Linked DNA regions of Homo sapiens: region 1 is linked to region 2. The links are contacts of gene promoters, found by promoter capture Hi-C in blood cells and fetal thymus (Javierre and others, 2016). All regions are on one chromosome and are shown on one strand. Each heading gives the region's core, a stretch centred on a gene start or on the middle of the fragment in contact. The rest is flanking DNA. Distances are from core to core; before and after follow the strand shown. Region 1 holds the start of RENO1 (regulator of early neurogenesis 1). Region 2 holds the start of CBX2 (chromobox 2).

Region 1 (5,785 bases), core at 46-2,545, 1.6 Mb before region 2:
ACTGCTCACGCTTTGGGTCCACACTGCCTTTATGAGCTGTAACACTCACCCCGAAGGTCTGCAGCTTCACTCTTGAAGCCAGCGAGACCACGAGCCCACCGGGAGGAAGGACAACTCCAGACGCGCTGCCTTAAGAGCCGTAACACTCACCGCGAAGGTCCGCAGCTTCACTCCTGAGCCAGCGAGACCACGAACCCACCAGAAGGAAGAAACTCCGAACGCATCTGAATATCAGAAGGAACAAACTCCAGACACGCCGCCTTTAAGAACTGTAACACTCACCGTGACGGTCCACGGCTTCATTCTTGAAGTCAGTGAGACCAAGAACCCACCAATTCCAGATACAGGATTACAAGTGTGAGCCACCGTGCCCGGCCTCTATTTATTTTTTATAATTTTTGAGACAGAGTCTTACTTTGTTGTCCAGGTTGGAGTGCAATGACGCAGTCCTGGCTCACTGCAACTTCTGCCTCCCGGATTCAAGTGATTCTCCTGCCTCAGCCTCCTGAGTAGCTGGGATTACAGGCACCCGCCACCACGCCCAGCTCATTTTTGTATTTTTAGTAGGGACAGGGTTTCACCATGTTGGTCAAGCTGGTCTCAAATGCCTGACCTCAAGCAATCCACCCGCCTTGGCCTCCCAAAATGCTGGGATTACAGGCGCGAGCCACTGTGCCCAGCCCCAAAGCTTATTTTTATTTGTTCACATGAATGCAGTTTTCTTGGTTATTATTTCTGAATCTTCTTGTAAATTTTTGAATACTACCTAAAATTATGAGGAAGGAAGCAAAAATCTGAGTTCACTTCCCCAGATTCTTTTTTTAAAGAACAAAATCTCTTTTCTCTCTGAAGCTATTACTGGTGTTTTTGAACACTGTGTGTTCTGAAACTCTTGCTCAGTGCAAGTTACACAACTGTAGCAAATAGACCCCAAACGTAGCTGCCCATGCCAGCCCGCGGCTTATTTATCCCTGACCTGCCCAAGCAAGTGCTCCTGCGGGGTGGGGCCTGGTTGGGCCCCAGGCTGAAGGCTGCCCTGTCATCTTGCACATTTGTCTTCCACAGTCTCTCTGATGTGCCCATTTCAGCCATCAGAAGGGGGAACCCTAAAAGCCTCCTGGAAGGGTGACCTGCTCCTGAAACTGGTGCACACTGCTTCTGCCAGATTCTGTTGGACACCACGGTTACCCAGCCACACCTACTGCGAGGGAGCCTGGGAATGCAGACCAGCCAGGGGCCCCATGAGAAGGGGTAACGGCTTCTGTTGGACAGCCGGACGGCAGCCAGCCAGCCCTTGGCCTCCAGACATCTGTGAGACCCACCCTTCCTCCACACATCGTGTTAGAAAAAGTCACCATCATCTCCAGGGAGAAGACCCAGCCCAAAGCCTGCCTCTCTAGGATGGGCAGAGCCTTTCCGTGGGTCCCGATGACTGTCTTCCGGGTCCAACTGACAGATGATTCATTAAGCCATCTGCTCCCCTCCCCCCGCAACCTGAGCCTTCATCTGATCTTTGCCGTAGGCCTGCACACTTTTGTTGGACTGAGCTGCCTGAGTGACAGGCCTTGAACAGCCACCATCTTTTCTCCTACTGTTTGAGGCATAAACAGTGGCTTTTTCAACCTGGGAGTCCCAACTTTCTGGGGTAACTCTAATTGCAAACCGGCCCTCAATTTCTGGAAACAGTAGTCAAGCTACAGGGAATGAGTGCCTCGCGCTAACCTTCTGGCTCTTTCCTCCCTCTTCCCAGCGTTCCCAAGCCTTTACCTCGGCACACCAGGGGACGTGTGGCATCATCTTCAATTCACCACATCCGTTTCCCTGTATCCCCAAGTGCCAGGGCAGGTGTATCAGTCGGCTTTTGCCACAACAGTGCTGCATAACGACGACCTTAAAGCTTGGTGGCCGAGTCTCACGCTCACAGGGCTAGGGCCGACCTCCACCTGGCCAAGCCCCTGGCCTCCGGGTTCTGGGATGTGGGCTGGGCTGAGGTCCGCCCAGGTTTCTCGCTTCTTGGAGCCCCCGTCAGTTATCTGCGTTCTCCATTCTTCTCTGGGGCACAGCCTGCTTGTAGTGGGTCCCTGGCAAGCAGGAAGACCAGGCTGCCCTTGCTGGCACATTCCAAACCTTTGCCCATTTCAAATCTGCTACCTTCCCACTAGCCAGAGCACGTCACTCGCCAAGCCCAAAGTCAAGGGAGGAGAGCCCACCCACCACCTAGAGACCACAGCAAGCAGACGGATGTAAAATTCTGCTACGGGGGAGTGAAAAACCAATGATTAAATTGCTAATTGAATTGTAAGTTAAACTGCTCTGAGGCATAGACGCTGGTGTAAATGCCTAAACAAAAGAGAAGTGGATTTCTCTCTTGACAACCATGGCAGGGTTTCCGTTTGACAATGGCCTTGATTCTTGCAGTCACTCAGAGCCCTAGGCTGAGGGTGACTCTGCTGTCCTCAAGCGAAGCTTCCTGTGTCACCCTGGTTGTTGCCAGGCCCTGGGAAAGGAAAAGTTAATGGAGGGCCTTTTGGGCCAGTCACAGGAGAGGCACACGTCACTGCTGTCACCTCCACTGCAGGTGGCCACCTGGCCACACCCCTTGCCAGGGAACCTGGCAGATTCAGTCTAGCCCAGGCCAAGGAGGAGGGGCACCCAATCTCGCTGTACAGCGCCGGCTCTGCGCTAGTTAGTTCGCTCGTGTTAGTTCTTCAGTTTGTGGTGCGTCCTTGGGGTTGGTGATCCCAGCTTTGTGTGGGATCCCTGCTTGTCCATCAGCAGCACGTGGTCAGACACCTCAACTGTGGCTGACGGCTCAGAGCCCACGACTCCCCGCTCCCTCCAGGTGTTATTCCACAATGGGATCTCTTCTCTGTCCACTGCCTGTGCTGAGTGTACTCAGCCAAGGGTGAGGCTGCCCTCCCACAGACACCCCAGCCATCCCCCTCCCACTGTCCCAGGGCCCCTTGGCTCCTCTGGGAGCTGCCATCACCTGCCAGCAGGTTTCACTTCTGGGCACCAAGGCTGTCATTTCTTCCCTCCAGCGAGAGCAACGTCCCCACCCCCATCTCCCCAGGACTCCTCCAGATTTCTGGGCCACGGAGGGCACCCATCTTGTCCCTGCTGGTTGTAATGGACTTACAGTTTTTTTTTCTTTGTTTTTTTGGAGATGGAGTTTCACTCTCGTTGTTGCCCAGGCTGGAGTGCAATGGCGCAATCTCGGCTCACCACAGCCTCTACCTCCTGGGTTCAAGCGATTCTCCTGCCTCAGCCTCCTGAATAGTTGGGACTACAGGCATTCGCCACCAAGGCTGGCTAATTTTGTATTTTTAGTAGAGATGGGGTTTCTCCATGTTGGTCAGGCTGGTCCTGAACTCCTGACCTCAGGTGATCTGCCTGCCTCAGACTCCCAAAGTGCTGTGCTGGGATTACAGGCATGAGCCACTGTGCCTGGCCTCAGTTTTTTTTTTTTTTTTTGTCATCTCCAGGGACTGGAAACAGGAGAGGAGGGTGTCAGGAGGAACTGTATGGAGGGCTACCTTGATTAAATCCCTTCTCAGCCTCTAAACCCATTCAGGTCTCTGGCCTTGGCTGCTTAATCCCTGGGAGCCACACCATTAAGGCCATATTGATCTGGGTCTGTGGGCTGCAACCAGGGCTGGAGGAGGTCAGGATGCTAGGAGGTCCTCCCTGAGTCCCCCAGACCCTGGGGCTGCTGTGGGCCTCAGGGGACACAGCAGAGTGCCCGCCTCAGAATTCTGGTGACCCCTGGAGTGGGGAACCCCAGGGTGGAGTCTTAAAAGTTGCTGTCTAGTGGCTTTGGCAACAACAGTTGAGGGATCGTGGCTTTGGTGACAACAGTGCCAGGGACCTGAGGACTGAGAAGGCCCATGCTGGCCCGGCAGGACTCCAGCAGATCCTGGGATGTTTGTGACAAGACTGTGTTCCCTGGTGCTGGCTCCTCTGCCATGCTGTGCCTTATTTATGCCCAGGGCTCCACTTACCCTGCAGGGATGGACTGGACCCTGCAGGGAGAGGCCCTTTGAAATCTCACGGCCAGGGGCTGCTTTGCCTCTGTTTTTATTCTAGTTTGTGATTTCACTTTGACAAGGTTTGGAAACTTAGGAAAATGTGAGAAGCACGTTCCCTGAGGCCTGGGACTGCTGACACCCATATGTGCCTCCTTCTCAGTGAATTAAGACTGTGTCTATTACTTTTAAAGAAGATGCAGGACACAGCGGACCAAAGTCCTCCACCTAGAAACAGACAACCCGCTTTACATGTTTCTGTTACAGAGAAAGCGACACTCACCAGCTCTTTGGCATCCCAAAGGCAGTTTTGTCACTTTTTCCCCTGCCGTGGTGAAGGCAATCGGGGTAACAAGATAAGAAGGTCCAGGCATTCTCCACCCTTGCTGCCCTACAGGGCCTGACTGAGGGCACAGGAGGCCCTTCCCTCACCCCCTGCTCCAGGGGAGATGTGCGCTCCAGCCTGGAAGAAGACCCCCTCTGGGGAGGGCGCGGGGCACAGGCCAAGCCGCCTGGCTGTGCTCCGCTCCAGATTTCAGTGCCTGGGCCCTGGTGCGGGTGTCCTGGCATTTCCCCTCAATGCGACCCAGCTCAGGGGACAGGGGTCACTCCTCCATTCGGGGTAAGCCTGGGGCAGCGGACGCCAATCCCACGAACCCTGCCCGGGCTGGGGGCCTGGGACGCTTTCCCTGGACTCCAGGATCCGTTTGTACGGAGTCACAGAACACAGCGTTATCGCTCGTCCGAGCCCAGGTACCCTCCTTCCTTCCCGGGGCCTGCGTCGCCTGCACGTCTCTCCGCAGATCCTCGCGGAAACGTGCACAGTAGGGCTCTGAACAGAACCCAGGCTGCTCTGAGCCGAACCCTCTCCGGCCCGGGGCTGACCGTGTCCATCCAAGCCGCCGTCCCGCTCCCCGCACCCCCGACGCGGGGCCACCTCCTCCCACCTCCCTCCCCACTCAGGCGCTTCTCCCGACAGCGGAGGGAGAGTCAAAAACCCACAACCCGGCGGCGGGATCCTGCCGGCTCTAGCTGGGCGACCTGGGCGCACCCGCCGGCGACGCAGTCTCGGGTCTCAGCGCATAGAACCCGGCCGCCCGCAGCCCCTCCCGCCAGCCACGCCCCCTGGGCCTTCCATTGGCCAAGCCGCCCGCGCCTCCGCGTGATTCCATTGGCCTGCGCCGGGGGCTCAGACAAAGGGAGCAGCCGCGGAGGGCGGTGATTGGGCGGGGTTGGGGGCGGGTCGGGCGGGCGCGCGGGTCGGGCGGGAGCCGCGCGCTGGAGAGGCGGGGAGCACGGCGCTGGGGGAGGGGCGCGGTGTTTCGGGCCCGGGACCGGGAGGCGCGGGTGTGCGGCGAGGCTCGGGTGCCTTCCCTCGTGGGGGCGGGGCGGCGGGGGCGGGGCGGTTCCACGTGGGTGGGGCTGGGCGCCCCGGAGGGCGGCGGCCGCGGGGCGCGGGGCGCTGGGATCCCGCCCGCTCCTCCGCCCTGCACCCCTCCCGCCCCGGGGCTCCTGCCCGGACGGCGGCCGCCGCCGCCTCGTCTTCCCCGAGGGCTCCGCGTCCGTCTCCGCAGCTCGGCCGGGAACCTGGGAACTCGGACGCAGAAGGACGCGCCCGAGCCAGGACCCGCCGCGGGGTCCCTCTGGTGGGCCGTGGCCGGGGAGAGGACGCGGGCCCTGGCGGTCGAAGACGGACGCAGCGCCCGGAAAGGCGAGCCAGGTCTCCGGCTCCTGGCGCTTCCTGTGAGCTGGCTCGGCGG
Region 2 (5,272 bases), core at 1,820-4,319:
CCTCGCAGAGCCTGGCTGCTGGCACATGACTCTCCTTGTTTCCTTTTTAAAAATACCTCTCTGTTCCTAAACTCTACTCTTGAGGGAGATGACAGAGGTGCCGAGGTCTGAGGCAGGCAAGGCTCAATGCACGCACCACTCGCAGTACCCCCCCCGCCCCCAGAAGAGCCTCCACACCTCCAGGGTCATGAAGTGCTAGCAGAACCTCCAGCCCCCAGGGAAAGCCTGTATTTCAGAAAAGGGGCCCTGGTAATTATCTGGGCAAACATCATCTCATTGGGGCCTGGAAGGCAACCTCCTCAACACAGTTCTGATTAGTACCAGGCAAAGTTCATACTCTTAAGTGCTGGTCCTTAACCTGAAATCTCCTAAAAGGACAATGAAGTGTTGCATGGATCTCCTCCGCTGAAATATTAACCTGTGCACTGACTGCTGTGATCCTGTGCGTCGCCAAGGGCCATACCCCCACCCCCTCCAATACCAAGCAGGTAACCGCCAGCTCCTAGTGCCCAGAGAGAGCTAACATTTTGGTGGATGGAGAAGGCTGTCCCACCTTCTCTGTTTTCTTTCTTCCACGATGTCATCCAAGCCACCCATGGGTTTTACACTCTTCTTATCTCAGGTGTTTCTGCTCTAACCAAAACCACAATCTCTCTCAACAGTTAGGACACCGTCTTAGATCCAGAGAAGCGCACCAGCCTCTGAAGTGGGCCAAGCCATTCCCCCACCCCAAGGCTCACAGCACCCAGACAGGAACTAACAGAAGACGATGGGTTGCTGTTACGATTTTCCAAAGGGATTTAAGCAAGCACAGGCTCTTCTTTTTGCTCGCCCCACCAGAAAACTCTATTTCCCCATTATCATGACCCCTCTGGGAAGACCCAATATGTCCCGCTACAGTGGAAAAAAGGGAATGCACCTTTTGCTACCAGAGAACAAACCGTCCAGATTGACCCTGGCTGGGAAAGACTCCAGCAACCAATTCTTCTGCCTCTATCCACAGGGCAAGTCCAGCCAGGGGATCCAGGGGGAGCCGTCAGTGAAACCACCCCCCATCTTGCCATTGCTTGAACAGTACTCCCTGGCCCTTCATGCCAGGTGGGCACATCCACTGCCCTCTCCTCACCACCCCTTGCCCTTGAACATCTCAAGGAGGCCTATCTCTTAACCTAAACTTCCTACCTAAAAATAGAAATGACATCTAGAATTACAGAAACAAGTCTGGCCCAATCCGGCCTCATGGTGCTACTTGGTACTGTATGCTGCAGGCCAGAGCAAAATAAATGTTTCTTTCTTGAGAGAGACATCACAATAGGCACAACTGCGTGCTGTGTGTTCCAGCTCCCTCTCTGAGCCTTCTTGCCTGATGGCACACGCGTGCAGGGCTGGAAGGGCAGACCTGCGTCACTGTGGCAAACCTGCTCTCCTGGTTTTCTGTTAGCGCCATGTGCAAATTACTCAGCAGAAAAGGCCAAGAGAAGCTATAACATCTTTATCTGAAGCAACTGAAAAAGTTGGTTTTTGCAAGTATGGCTGTCGGAAACACCAAAGCAGCACTTACTTAGGTTCTTCTCAGGGATGGATACAGGCTGGCTAGGAGAAGGTGGGAGAGGGGCTGGCTGGGGACTTTTACAGCCAGCCACAGAGATGGCCCTGGACACAATCTTGCTAAGGGACCTCAGACCACAGCCCCAGCTCCAGCCTCCCGGCAGGCGAGCAGCGCCCAGCACGACTCCAACCAGCCACCGTCCCTCCCCCACACCCTCCCCAGTGCTGTCAGCGTCCTCACTTCTTCTGGAAGGCCAGGAGCAGCCTCGGGTCCAGGATGTTCTCCTCCGGCTCCCAGCTGTTATGTCTGCAAAGCAGAGGACAGGGCAGCATTAGACGCCAGGCTGATGATCACCGCTTTGCAAGGCAGCCCGAGGGGGCTCGCCCTCACCGCTCCTCGACTTGGGCCGATGGCAGTGGCACCGTAGCACCATGGCACTTCTCAAAGTCCAAACCCAGGTTTTGGAGGCTGGCCACCCCCCACCAAGCCAGCACTCTAACCTCAGACCCAAAGGGAAACTGCCGCTCCAACCCCCCAATTAAAACAAGGCCACAAGAGGACTCCCACAGTCTCTGCCTGGGAGAAAAACAAACCCCCATAAAACGCAAAGTTGCAGAGAGGGATTCCCCCAAACCCTGGCCCGGAGCCAGAGGAGGAAGGGAAGGCAGGTCCAGCATGCAGGGAGGGGCACAGGCGCCCAGCCCGAGATCCAGAACAATGTGGCGCGCGGGCCGGGGCACCTCGAGGGGTAGCGAAGAAAGAGCGGGGTCCGGGAAGACGCAGAAACGGGGCCGCGGGAGCAGCTGTGCAGAGAGCCCCTTCCGGGGATGCCAAACACCCTCCCTTCCATTAAAAGAAAGAAAAAAAAAAAGAAACTCTACATCCATCAATAGCAAGCTCAGGTTACAGCGGGGAGAATCTGGCCAAGAGGAGGGGGGCTTGCATCCCGCGCCTCCCTCCCGGCCGGGACGGGGGTTGGGGGGAGCGCGGCGCGGCAGCCGAGGAGGTTCTGGCGCGGGGGGCCGCCCAGCTCTGCACCCGCGGGCGTGTAAACAAAGGGCAACCTCGGGCCGGGCGGCCCCCGCCCCCCTCAGAGCCGGAGGAGCCCGCGGGGACCCCGCGAACTTCCCGCTCTGCCCGCGGGCGCCCCCAGGCCACCGGACGGCGCGGCCGAGGGGCTCCACGTCCCCACCCCCGGGCGAGGGGGCGGGAGGGGGGCGCGGCGTCGCGGGGGACTCACTTGGAGGACCAGCCGCGCCACTTGACCAGGTACTCCAGCTTGCCCTGCGGGGAGAGAAGAGGGGCCGTGAGCCAGACGGACAGCGGGCGGCGGGCGGGGGGCCCGGCGGGCCGCACGCACCTTGCGGAGCCGCTTGCTCAGGATGCACTCGGCGGCGAAGACCTGCTCGCCCACGCTGCTCAGCTCCTCCATGCTGCCCGGCAGCCAGCCCGACCGCGGCGCCCGCCGCCAGTCACCCGCCCGGACCGCCGCGCGCCCCGCCGGCAGCACACAAAGCACCGCCCCCGCCCGGCGCCGGCCCGCCCCGCGCACGCGCACCGCCGCTCCGCGCCCGCGCCCCGGCCCGCCGCCCGCCCCCGCGCGCTGCCCAAATCCCGTGCGGGCCAATCAGCGAGGGGGGGCGGGTGCGGGGCGGGGCGGGGCGCGCATTGTCCGCGGCGGGCTGGGCCTCGCGCTCCGGCGGGGGGTCCCGCGCGGGGCCCCGGGCGGGGGCGGGGGCGGGGGTGGGGGCGCGGGCGGGCCCCTGGCTGGGGGAGGAGGTGCCTAGGGACTTCGGGCCTGGGGCGCCCACCGAGTCCCGCGTGATTCCCGGGGCGCGCCCGCCCTTGCTCCCAACTCCGTTTTCCGGGCAAAAAGCCATTGTTCTGGCCCGAAGGGAGGGAAGCGGGACGGGGCGCGGCGGCTGCTTCCTGCCCCCGCCTTCGAGGGGCGCTGCTCCGGGGCACGCGGGGCCCCACCCTTCCCCCGGCTTCTTGAACTGGCTTTTCCTCGGCAGCGGGGGAGTCGCTCTGTTTTGGACGAGAGCAAAACGGGTCGGGGGCTGGGGAAGGAAAGGAAGACGAAGTCCGGGGGAGGGGCCCACAAACCCCAGCAGCCGAGGCTTTTTCCCCCAAAGGCGAGAGAGGAAAATGCTTTAACTTAAACCACCAAGCACTCTGAGAAAGAAGTAATACGAACTGCCCGGAGTTCTTATTAAACAGCTATGAAAAGTGGATCCAGCCCCCGAGTTTTAGGGCACGTGTAGGGAGAAAACCAGCTGCACCTTTTCTGAATTTGTTCCCCGATTTTGATGAAATGGAGGGGGAGGGGGCGGTTTGCAAGGCTGTTCCTAACTTCGGACTAGGTCAGTAGTGGCCCGCCAGGGCTGGGCAGCCGGCGTCCTTCGGATCAATTGTCCGCGGCAGAAAAGGGTCAGGCCATGTTATGAAAGTGGGGGTGACCCCTTGTCCTCCCTGTGATCGTCGTCAGCAGGCTACCCTTTTATTCCGGTGTTAAGATTCGAATTCCATGAAGAATCACCCTTTAAGTTATTTAGATTTTGAATCAGGACAAGTCAAACACGTAATGAAAGAGACCTGAGCCTTAGCTTCATTCGTCTCAACGCAGTCTAACTCCATGAAAATTCACTCTCTGCTTTTCTTGCTTCCTTGAACACAGCTGCAAAATTCTCTTTCTGTTGAGCAGATCCAAAAGTCGTTTCTTGTTGTAGGAGACTGTCTCAATGTAATTGTGATCATCAAAACCATATTTATAAAGGGTTCTGCAGGAGAAATGTGTTTTTTTGTTTTTACAGAAAGGCCTACTGGAGAAAATACTGAACTGTAGGAACCGATCTTTCAATTTATGGCGTGTTCTTCAGTTTCTTTGGTTAGATAGGTTACATTCATTTGATTTCCTGGAGAGTACGTGCAAATTCAGATGTTGTTTGCAAAGAGGGCAGGAGAAAGGGAAATGTCCTTGGGGGGAAGGTGTTTGTTTACTCAGGGGCAGAGGCAGTAAAGAATCCTTGTGTTGGGATAAAACTGGCCTCTGGAGTGAAGGGATCCGCTAACAGTGTCTCCGCCGGCTCCTTTTGTATCCCTGTCTTGTGCAGCTTGGCAGTAAATTGTGGAGTTGAGGGCAAAGGTGTATTTATTGTAATCCTACAAATAGCTGGATCAGTTTCACATCACGTTTCCTTGCAGAATTCATCTTGGGTCTAAGATTTTGCCCTGGAAGTTTCCAGTTTCCTCTTTGACTCATGGTATGCTGGGATACTTGCTTGATTTCTTTTTAAAGAAAAGAAGGCTTTGAAAAGGGAATGATTTCTTTGCTTAAGAAATAAATTTGCTAGAATTTGATACTAACACATTGAAAAAAATAAATCAGCGTCCAGGAAGGTTTAACATGTACATCATCTACCCAACTGCAAACAGTTTGGGTAAAATAATATTTAGATAATTCATTTGGAGAAACAAATATGACAGATTTGGCCAGAATGAAATAATCAGATACATTCTGTGAACGTGTGATCCAAAATCTGTGGCACGTTCCCTAAAAACAAAGCTGGGAATAGGCAGAAGGGAAGAATAACCCCCAGCTAATCCAACTGTGTAAAACAAGCGGACGTCTTCCGTTTTGACTGTCACATTTTAAGAATTATTAAGACAAGTTAAAACTAATTATTGTATTATTCATTCGACAGATAGTTAGTATGTACTATC

What was found. The method cuts DNA at HindIII sites, captures the fragments that hold promoters and counts their contacts. A CHiCAGO score of 5 or more calls a contact.
Region 1: a fragment that was not itself captured here is called in contact with the fragment with the promoter of CBX2 in region 2 in 1 of 17 cell types (total B cells); the score reaches 5.4 in total B cells.

What each region holds. Positions count from the first base shown.
Region 1 is chr17:81,345,731-81,351,515 of GRCh38, reverse strand. It overlaps RENO1 (regulator of early neurogenesis 1), which reads left to right and starts at 5,521. Exons shown (of 2, transcript NR_186479.1): 1 at 5,521-5,785. RefSeq lists an enhancer at 2,578-3,215 and silencers at 5,466-5,754, 4,970-5,785. The HindIII fragment of the contact is 1,209 bases long and covers 691-1,899 here.
Region 2 is chr17:79,775,945-79,781,216 of GRCh38, reverse strand. It overlaps CBX2 (chromobox 2), which reads right to left and starts at 3,069. Exons shown (of 5, transcript NM_005189.3): 1 at 2,910-3,069; 2 at 2,790-2,833; 3 at 1,790-1,855. The coding sequence starts at 2,981. RefSeq lists an enhancer at 1,816-2,409 and silencers at 2,805-2,874, 2,885-3,264. The HindIII fragment of the contact is 13,003 bases long and covers 1-5,272 here.